Linked DNA regions of Homo sapiens: region 1 is linked to region 2. Evidence: promoter capture Hi-C in 16 types of primary human blood cells and fetal thymus (Javierre and others, 2016). All regions are on one chromosome and are shown on one strand. The core of a region is centred on a gene start or on the middle of the fragment in contact, and the rest is flanking DNA. Distances in the headings are between cores, read along the strand shown. Region 1 overlaps PGBD2 (piggyBac transposable element derived 2). Region 2 holds the start of ZNF672 (zinc finger protein 672).

The links. Contacts are between HindIII fragments. The CHiCAGO score rates a contact against its expected background, and 5 or more counts as called.
Region 1: a contact is called between a fragment that was not itself captured here and the fragment with the promoter of ZNF672 in region 2, in 4 of 17 cell types (total CD4 T cells, erythroblasts, naive CD4 T cells and 1 more). The highest score is 7.2, in total CD4 T cells.

What each region holds. Positions count from the first base shown.
Region 1 is chr1:248,917,040-248,920,662 of GRCh38, reverse strand. It overlaps PGBD2 (piggyBac transposable element derived 2), which reads right to left. Exons shown (of 3, transcript NM_170725.3): 3 at 1,517-3,623. The coding sequence ends at 2,300. Among named protein-coding and RNA genes, the nearest start is that of PGBD2, 13 kb to the right of the region's middle. The HindIII fragment of the contact is 1,620 bases long and covers 1,007-2,626 here.
Region 2 is chr1:248,836,238-248,839,960 of GRCh38, reverse strand. ZNF672 (zinc finger protein 672) reads right to left here and starts at 1,737. Exons shown (of 4, transcript NM_024836.3): 1 at 1,410-1,737. RefSeq lists enhancers at 415-494, 835-1,104, 802-1,301, 1,302-1,803 and a silencer at 1,395-1,794. The HindIII fragment of the contact is 11,934 bases long and covers 1-3,723 here.

The DNA of each region.
Region 1 (3,623 bases), core at 567-3,066, 81 kb before region 2:
TACTGGGTATATACCCAAAGGATTATAAATCATTCTACTACAAAGACACATGCACACATATGTTTATTGCAGCACTATTCACAATAGCAAAGACTTGGAACCAACCCAAATGTCCATCAATAATAGACTAAAGAAAATGTGGCACATATACACCATGGAATACTATGCAGCCATAAAAAAAGGATGAGTTCATGTCCTTTGCAGGGACATGGATGAAGCTGGAAACCATCATTCTCAACAAACTATCACAAGAACAGAAAACCAAACATCGCAAGTTCTCACTCATAAGTGGGAGTTGAACAATAAGAACACATGGACATAGGGAGGGGAACCTCATACCAGGACCTGTCAGGGGGTGGGGGGCTAGGGGAGGGATAGCATTAGGACAAATACCTAATGTAGGTGACAGGTTGATGGGTGCAGCAAGCCACCATGGCACGTGTATACCTATGTAACAAAAACTGCACATTCTGCACATGTACCCCAGAACTTAAAGTATAATTAAGAAAAAAAAAAGATATATACTGGGAGGCTGAGGTGGGCAAATCACTTGAGCTCAAGAGTTCAAGACCAGCCTGGCCAACATGGTGAAACACCATCTCTACTAAAAATAGAAAAATTAGCCGGGTGTGGTGGTGGGTGCCTGTAATCCCAGCTACTTGGGAGGCTGAGGCAGGAGAATCACTTGAGCCCAGGAGACAGAGGATGCAGTGAGCCGAGATTGCGCACCACTGCATTCCAGCCTGGGTGACAAGGCAACTCCATCTCAAAATAAAAACAAAAGGTACAAATGGCAAACAGGTATAAAAAAAGTGCTCAACATCACTGATCAACAGAAAAATGCAAGTGAAAACTACATTGAGATATCTCATCCGGGCAGAAATGGCTGTAATCCAAAAGACAGACAATAACAAATGCTGGCAAGGATGTGGAGAAAAGGGAACCCTTGAACACTGCTGGTGGGAATGTAAATTAGTACAACCTCTATGGAGAACAGTTTGAAGCTTCCTCAAAAACTAAAAATAGAGCTACCATATGATTCAGGAATCCCATTCCTAAGTATACATCCAAAAGAAAAAAAAATCAGTATATTGAAGAAAGATCTGAACTCATGTTTATTTTCTGCACTATTCTCAATAGTCATGATTTGGGAGCAACCTAAGTGTCCATCAACAGAAGAATGGATAAAGAAAATGTACATATACACAATGAAGTGTGATTAATATTTAGCCACAAAAAAATGATATTCAGTCATTTGCAACAACATGAATGGAACTGGAGGTCATTATGTTAAGTGAAATAAGCCAAGCAAAGACAGACAAACTTCAGATGTTCTCACTTATTTGTGGGAGCTAAAAATGAAAACAATTGAACTCATGGACACACAGAGTGGAAAGAAGGTTACCAGAGCTTGGAAAGGGTAGTTAGGGGGTGGGGGAGAGTGGGAATAGTTAATGGGTATGAAAAAATAGAAAGAATGAGTAAGACCTAGTATTTGCTAGCACAACAGGGTGAATATAGTTAAAAATAATTTAATTGCACATTTTAAAATAACTAACAGTATAATTGGATTGTTTGAAACACAAAGGACAAGTGTTTGACAAGATGGATACCCCATTTACCCTGATGTGATTTTTATACATTGCATGTTTGTATCAGAATATCTCATGTAACCCATAAAAATACACTCCTACTATGTACCCACAAAATTAAAAAAATAATTTTTTTTACAAAAATGAATCTCACATTGATATATGTGTATTAGGAAAATATTTTCATTAAGAAAATATGAAATCTGCACCTCTAGCCCTCTGACTAAATACAAGGCAGATTATCCCTCAAAAGTTTGATAAACTTGGATTAATATGAAATAAATATGATTAAGAAATCCATCACATTTACATGATATTTATACACTATTGCCTATCTTAGATTATAAACCATGGCATGCAATGGTAAAGTCTTCTTACTGTTCTTGCAAGTTTTCCTTTGATTATTCTTGCTAGGATTCAAATATACCCCAAAGCACAACTTTTATTTGAATAAAAAGTGATCCATAACTTTAAATAAATAAGTTCAAAAATATAAATATAAATGAATATAAATATTAATTTATATCACATGTAGGCATAACACAACACAATAAAAAAGATAACTGTATTGTGGGTAGGGAGAAAATAGAAAATCAAGTCATTAGAAATTCAGGTCTTTTTTCCAACACAAAACAGAAGTGCTCAACTGCCATCTGTATTTAACTGTAAACATCTCATTATAAACCAAAGAAGCATGTCTCATGATGTCACCGGATGTGGTACTCCCTGAAGCATTTGGCATGGACACCCTTCTGGCACTTCTCACACCGGGTGTTGGTCTGTGAGTGGCAGAGGGCACACCGGGTCCTCTTGTCCTGATGGATAATCCAGTGCCCAATCATATCGAAGCGGCTCTCAGTCTCCAACCGCCTGCTTCGCCTCCCTTGAGATGTTGTGTCAGCATTGCTCTCCAGATACACACAGGCAATGTATCTCCGGAAGGCAAGGAGGTCCACCTGGGCATCTTGGCAGCAGATTCTATGCAGCTGCCATGCATTGTTGAGGGCAGCATCAATGACATAGCCAATAAAGCTTGAGTACCACTTCATGCCTCGGATCTTCACCTTGTACTTGGCAATATTCTGATCCATCCTACCAACGCCACCCACCTTCTCCTGATACAGCTTCACCAGTGATGGCTGGTGGACCTGAGTCCGCGTTTTAGCTGCTCCAGAGTGACGACTGGTCAGCCTCACTGGCTCTATGCCCACAGCATTGGAGCAAATGTTGACCACGCTGCTATCGTGCCAGCGGCACACGATGATCTCCTCACTCTCATCGACTTTGTAATCAAATGAACCCCTCTTCATTTTTTTCAGTTCTTTGGGGTCTTTTAGGGGACATCGCTCAGTCCTGTACTCACGAACAGTTCCTGTGGCTTTCACCCCCTTTTTCCTCAAAATGGACATCAGTTTAACACTTGTGAAAACCTTGTCAAAAAATATGTGATATGGCAGAAAACCACGCTCCTGAAGCGCATCCACAAATTTTATTACCATACTGCCTCCTAGATCCAAGCTCCTGTCTGGCTTGGTAAACAGTGTGCCCTGTGAGGGCTCAAACCACACCAAGTAGCCTCTGCTGGTTGTCCCACACCAAATCTTGTAGCCAAGTCGCACAGGCTTCCCCCTGTGCAGCTGCTTGGACCCCCGGTGCCCAAAGTACTCACACATAGACTCGCCAAAGCTGTAGAACTCTTCCAAGGGTGCATGCTTCTGGAAATTGCAGTTCATCCGGATGATGAGAGGTCTGACCTTGGCAAACCTATCACTTGCATCAAGTTCGTTGTTATCTGCAAAATGTAAGTATGAGAAGATTAGTTCAAATCTGTCCCTTCTAATTGCATCAGCCACAAGATGATGATGTGAATCGGGAGAGGTTTCCCAGAACATCCTTCTCCTTGGATAAGAGATGTACCCACTTAAAATCAAAATGCCCAAAACACACTTCAATTCCTGAGCCGTAAGACTCAAATTGACATTTTTCTGCCAAGCATAACGATTGGTTTCATTAACAATGAAATTAATTGTT
Region 2 (3,723 bases), core at 488-2,987:
TCGAGACCAGCCTGGCCAACACAGTGAAACCCTGTCTCTACGAAAAATACAAAAATCAGCCAGGTGTGGTGGCGCCCGTCTGTAGTCTCAGCTACTGGGAAGGGTGAGGTGGGAGGATCACTTGAGGCCAGGAGGCGGAGGTTGCAGCGAGCCGAGATCGCGCCACTGTACTCCAGCCTGGACGACAGAGCAAGACTCCGTCTCAAAAAAAAAAAAAAAAAAAAAAAATTGCTAACACTGAGAATTGCGGTTGCCCGGTGCTTAGGATTTACTCTGCCTAGGACAGTCCTTCTTGTTGTTGTTGTTTGTTTGTTTTTTGAGACAGGGTCTTGCTGTCACCCAGCTTGGAATGCAGTGATTTGATCACTGTCTCACTGCAGCCTCGCCCTCCTGGACTCAAGCAACCCTCCAGCCTCAGCCTCCTGCGGAGCTGGGACTATGAGCAGGTGCTACCACACCCGGCTAATTATTATTATCATTATTTTTTTTGTAGAGACGAGGGTTCTCACCATGTTGCCCAGGCTGGTCTTGAACTCCCGAGCTCAAGAGAGCCTCCCACTTTGGCCTCCCAAAGTGCTAGGATAACAGGCATGAGCCACTGTGCCCGGCCCTGGGCAGTTCTTAAGAGCGACTCTGAGTAAGGGGCTTAACTCCTGTCTCCACTCCAGGCATCCTAAACGGTCTGCAGCCGTTTTCAGTCCTTCCCCCTCAACCCCTAAGAATCCCTCACATGATTAGAACAGCACAGCATGGGCCTTCCATAGCTCCACTTGCGCGAACTGTGGGCTCCAAGATGAAAGAAGGGAAGCTGGCTACTCATCTGGGGACTTGGTGCCTGGTACTTAAGAGCGAAGCACAACTATTCGCCGAATGCGGAACACGGCACCTGAACAGGTCGCTTTCCGTGGCCCACAGCAGCGCAGCCAATCCTGGGGCGCCTCAGTCGGCGCGCGTCACAAGTTGCTGGGCAAACTTTCTTTGAGCGAGCCCCTTCCCAACCCCGAGCCTACCCTAGCCCCTTGCCCGTGGCGCCAGCCGACTTGGAGGGCGAGACCGGGCACCAAAAACGTAGTGGGGAACGTTTAACGCTGCCAGAACCCGGTGGCGGCCGTTGCCCCCTTAAGTCGGCTCAGCCTGGCGACGTTTGTCGTGGTGACGCCAGCCCCGAAAAGGTCACCCGAGGCGGACCAGCGAGGACAGGCGGAGGGGAAGGCCTGGGAGGAGCAGGCCGCGCGGACGTGTCCGGCCAATCGCTCGCCCCGCAGTATCCCCGCGTCACTCGCAGCCCGGGCGGCGCTCCCGACCGCCGCAGACACCAGTCGCCCGAGGCAGATGGGAGAAGACTAGCCACAGCTGAGGACTGCTGCCCCGAGCCACCCTTGCCCTCCCCTGCCCTTCAGTCCCCTCACCGGTCGCCGACTGCCTCCTCAGACACCGCGCGGTTCCCACTCAGCCGGCTGCCGACCCCCGCCTCCCGGACTGCGGGACTGGGGCGGGGGAGCGAGGAAGGGGCTAACGGCGCGCGCGGCCTCCGAGTGGGGGGAGCGGGGAGGCGCCCGAGCGTCCGGCCCCTCGGGATGGGGAGGTCACGCTCCTGTCCCTCTCGCCCGCGTCGGCTAGTGGTCAGTCTGGCGCGGGCAGTGTCACCGGTTGCTGGGAAGACTGGGAGGCCAGCGAGCAGCGTACCAACCACTCAGCCTCTCCGGCCCCAGCTGGAGCCGGGAAGCAGGCGGGGCTAAAAGAGAAAGCCTGCGGGGGGACTCCACTCCCGCCTCCCGCGCGGGCCAAGGCCCCGCCCTCTCTTCTGGCTTAACCAATTCCTGCCTCCCGCTTTGTCTGTTGGCCCACCCCTGGGCCTCGTCCCGCCCAATCAGAGGAAAGGGCGCCGATCCCTGCGCGCGCCTCAGCCCCCAGCCGCGGAGTCCCGGGAGCTAGGCGGTCCACCGTCTAGTCTTCCAGCAGCTCTTCCCGCGGCCGCTGGCGGGACACAGACAGGTGTACCCTTCGGTGCTTCCGGCGCGGTAGCCGGTGCCCGGCGCGGACGGGGCCGCGGCAGCCATCCCCGTAGTTAAGTTAGCGCCTTCTTATTAAGTGAGGCCAGACTGGATAGCTATTATCTCTCAACCCTCACCACAACCCTGCCAGGGGAAATATGAGCATTTATCCTGTATTTTAGGTAAGGACCCCACAAGTTAATGATACGCCCAAAGTCGCAATGCCAGGGATAGGGGTTACTCCTGGTCGGCTTGCCAGCTGCCTCTCCATGAGCTTCCTGGTTGAACTGCCTGTCCAAATGTTGACCCTAATGTCTTCTACTAGGAAATGCTACTAGTATTCCTTTCCGGAAATGCATTTTGGGAACCTGGCCATCCTTTAGTGTGCCTATATCATCAGAACAGACGCCCAGGGATGGCCCTCAAGGTCCTTTACTGCTGTAATCTTCCTTTGGAGGTCACTTAGTACCACTCTTCTGAGCTCTGCTCAGGGGGTCCCCTAATTAGTGTACTTCGACCTGCCATGCTTGGCCTGGAAAACTCTTACCCTCTTCTCTGTTTTAATTTGTAAAACCTTAGTCAAATGCCATCTCCATAAACCTATGCTAGAATGCCCCTCTCTGTCCTCAGTCCTGGGGACATATCTATGCTGCAGCGCAACCTCCCGCATGTTGATACTGTTGTTATAGTCAGATGAATACTGTTCCCCCATAGCTTAAGGGACAGGCCTTGTCCTACTCATGAACAATTGATCCCTTGAAGCATGAGCAGAGGGCCAGCACGCCACAGATGATCAATGAGTGTTTGCTGACCCGCATATGACAACACGGATTAAGGAAGACAAATCTGGTAGCAGCAGGCAAGAAAGCTGAAAAGCAAGACACAGGATGCAGGTCTGGAGTGATCAGGGCCTGAACCAGGAAGGGATAACATTGAGAGAGACATGGAAAATGCGCTTGAAGTATATATATTTTTATTGTAAAGAATCATACACAGATAAGGTAGTATTATATAGAGAATGATTAGTTGAGGATATTTCCAGAGTCTTTAAGCCAGAGAAATGTACTAATTTAGACATTTCTGGACTCATTGCTCAGTACTGATGTCATGTTTTTAAGGACACTGACACACTTGGCTAATCCCAGAGACATGAAGAGGATGGTGACTAGGGTGGTCACATAATTAAAGGGGCTGGGGATATTTAACCTAGAAAGAGAAACATTTTTTGTGCACATAATGACTGTACACAAATTCTAACAAACTTTCATGTGAAAGAGGACTGGATTAGATGACTTTCTTCTGTGTAGCTTTGGAGGGAAAAACTCAAACAATGGGGGGAAAGAACAGGAAGCTGGATTTAGGTTTCCTATGTTATGGAAGTCATCACAGTGGGGGATGATAATTGTAACAGGAAGATGGAGGGTAGTGAAAGAAAGTTCAAGGATGAAGTTATGTGTATATTTGTCAATTAAAAATATCACATCCAAATGGTTTTATTTCTCTACACATCTACATCAATAAATGACAACTCTTAATGTGGTTCTGTAAATACTCAAAATGTTTATGGAAGGTCTACTATATGCCAGGTAGTATTCTAGACGTTGGAGATAACAGCTGTGAACCTACCAGATGAATCTCCCCAAAGTTCTGATTGTATCACATTCCTGCTCAGTAATAGTCAAAAAAGTCTGTACAATCACCAAATGAAGTTTACTCTTCTGGTGTAATA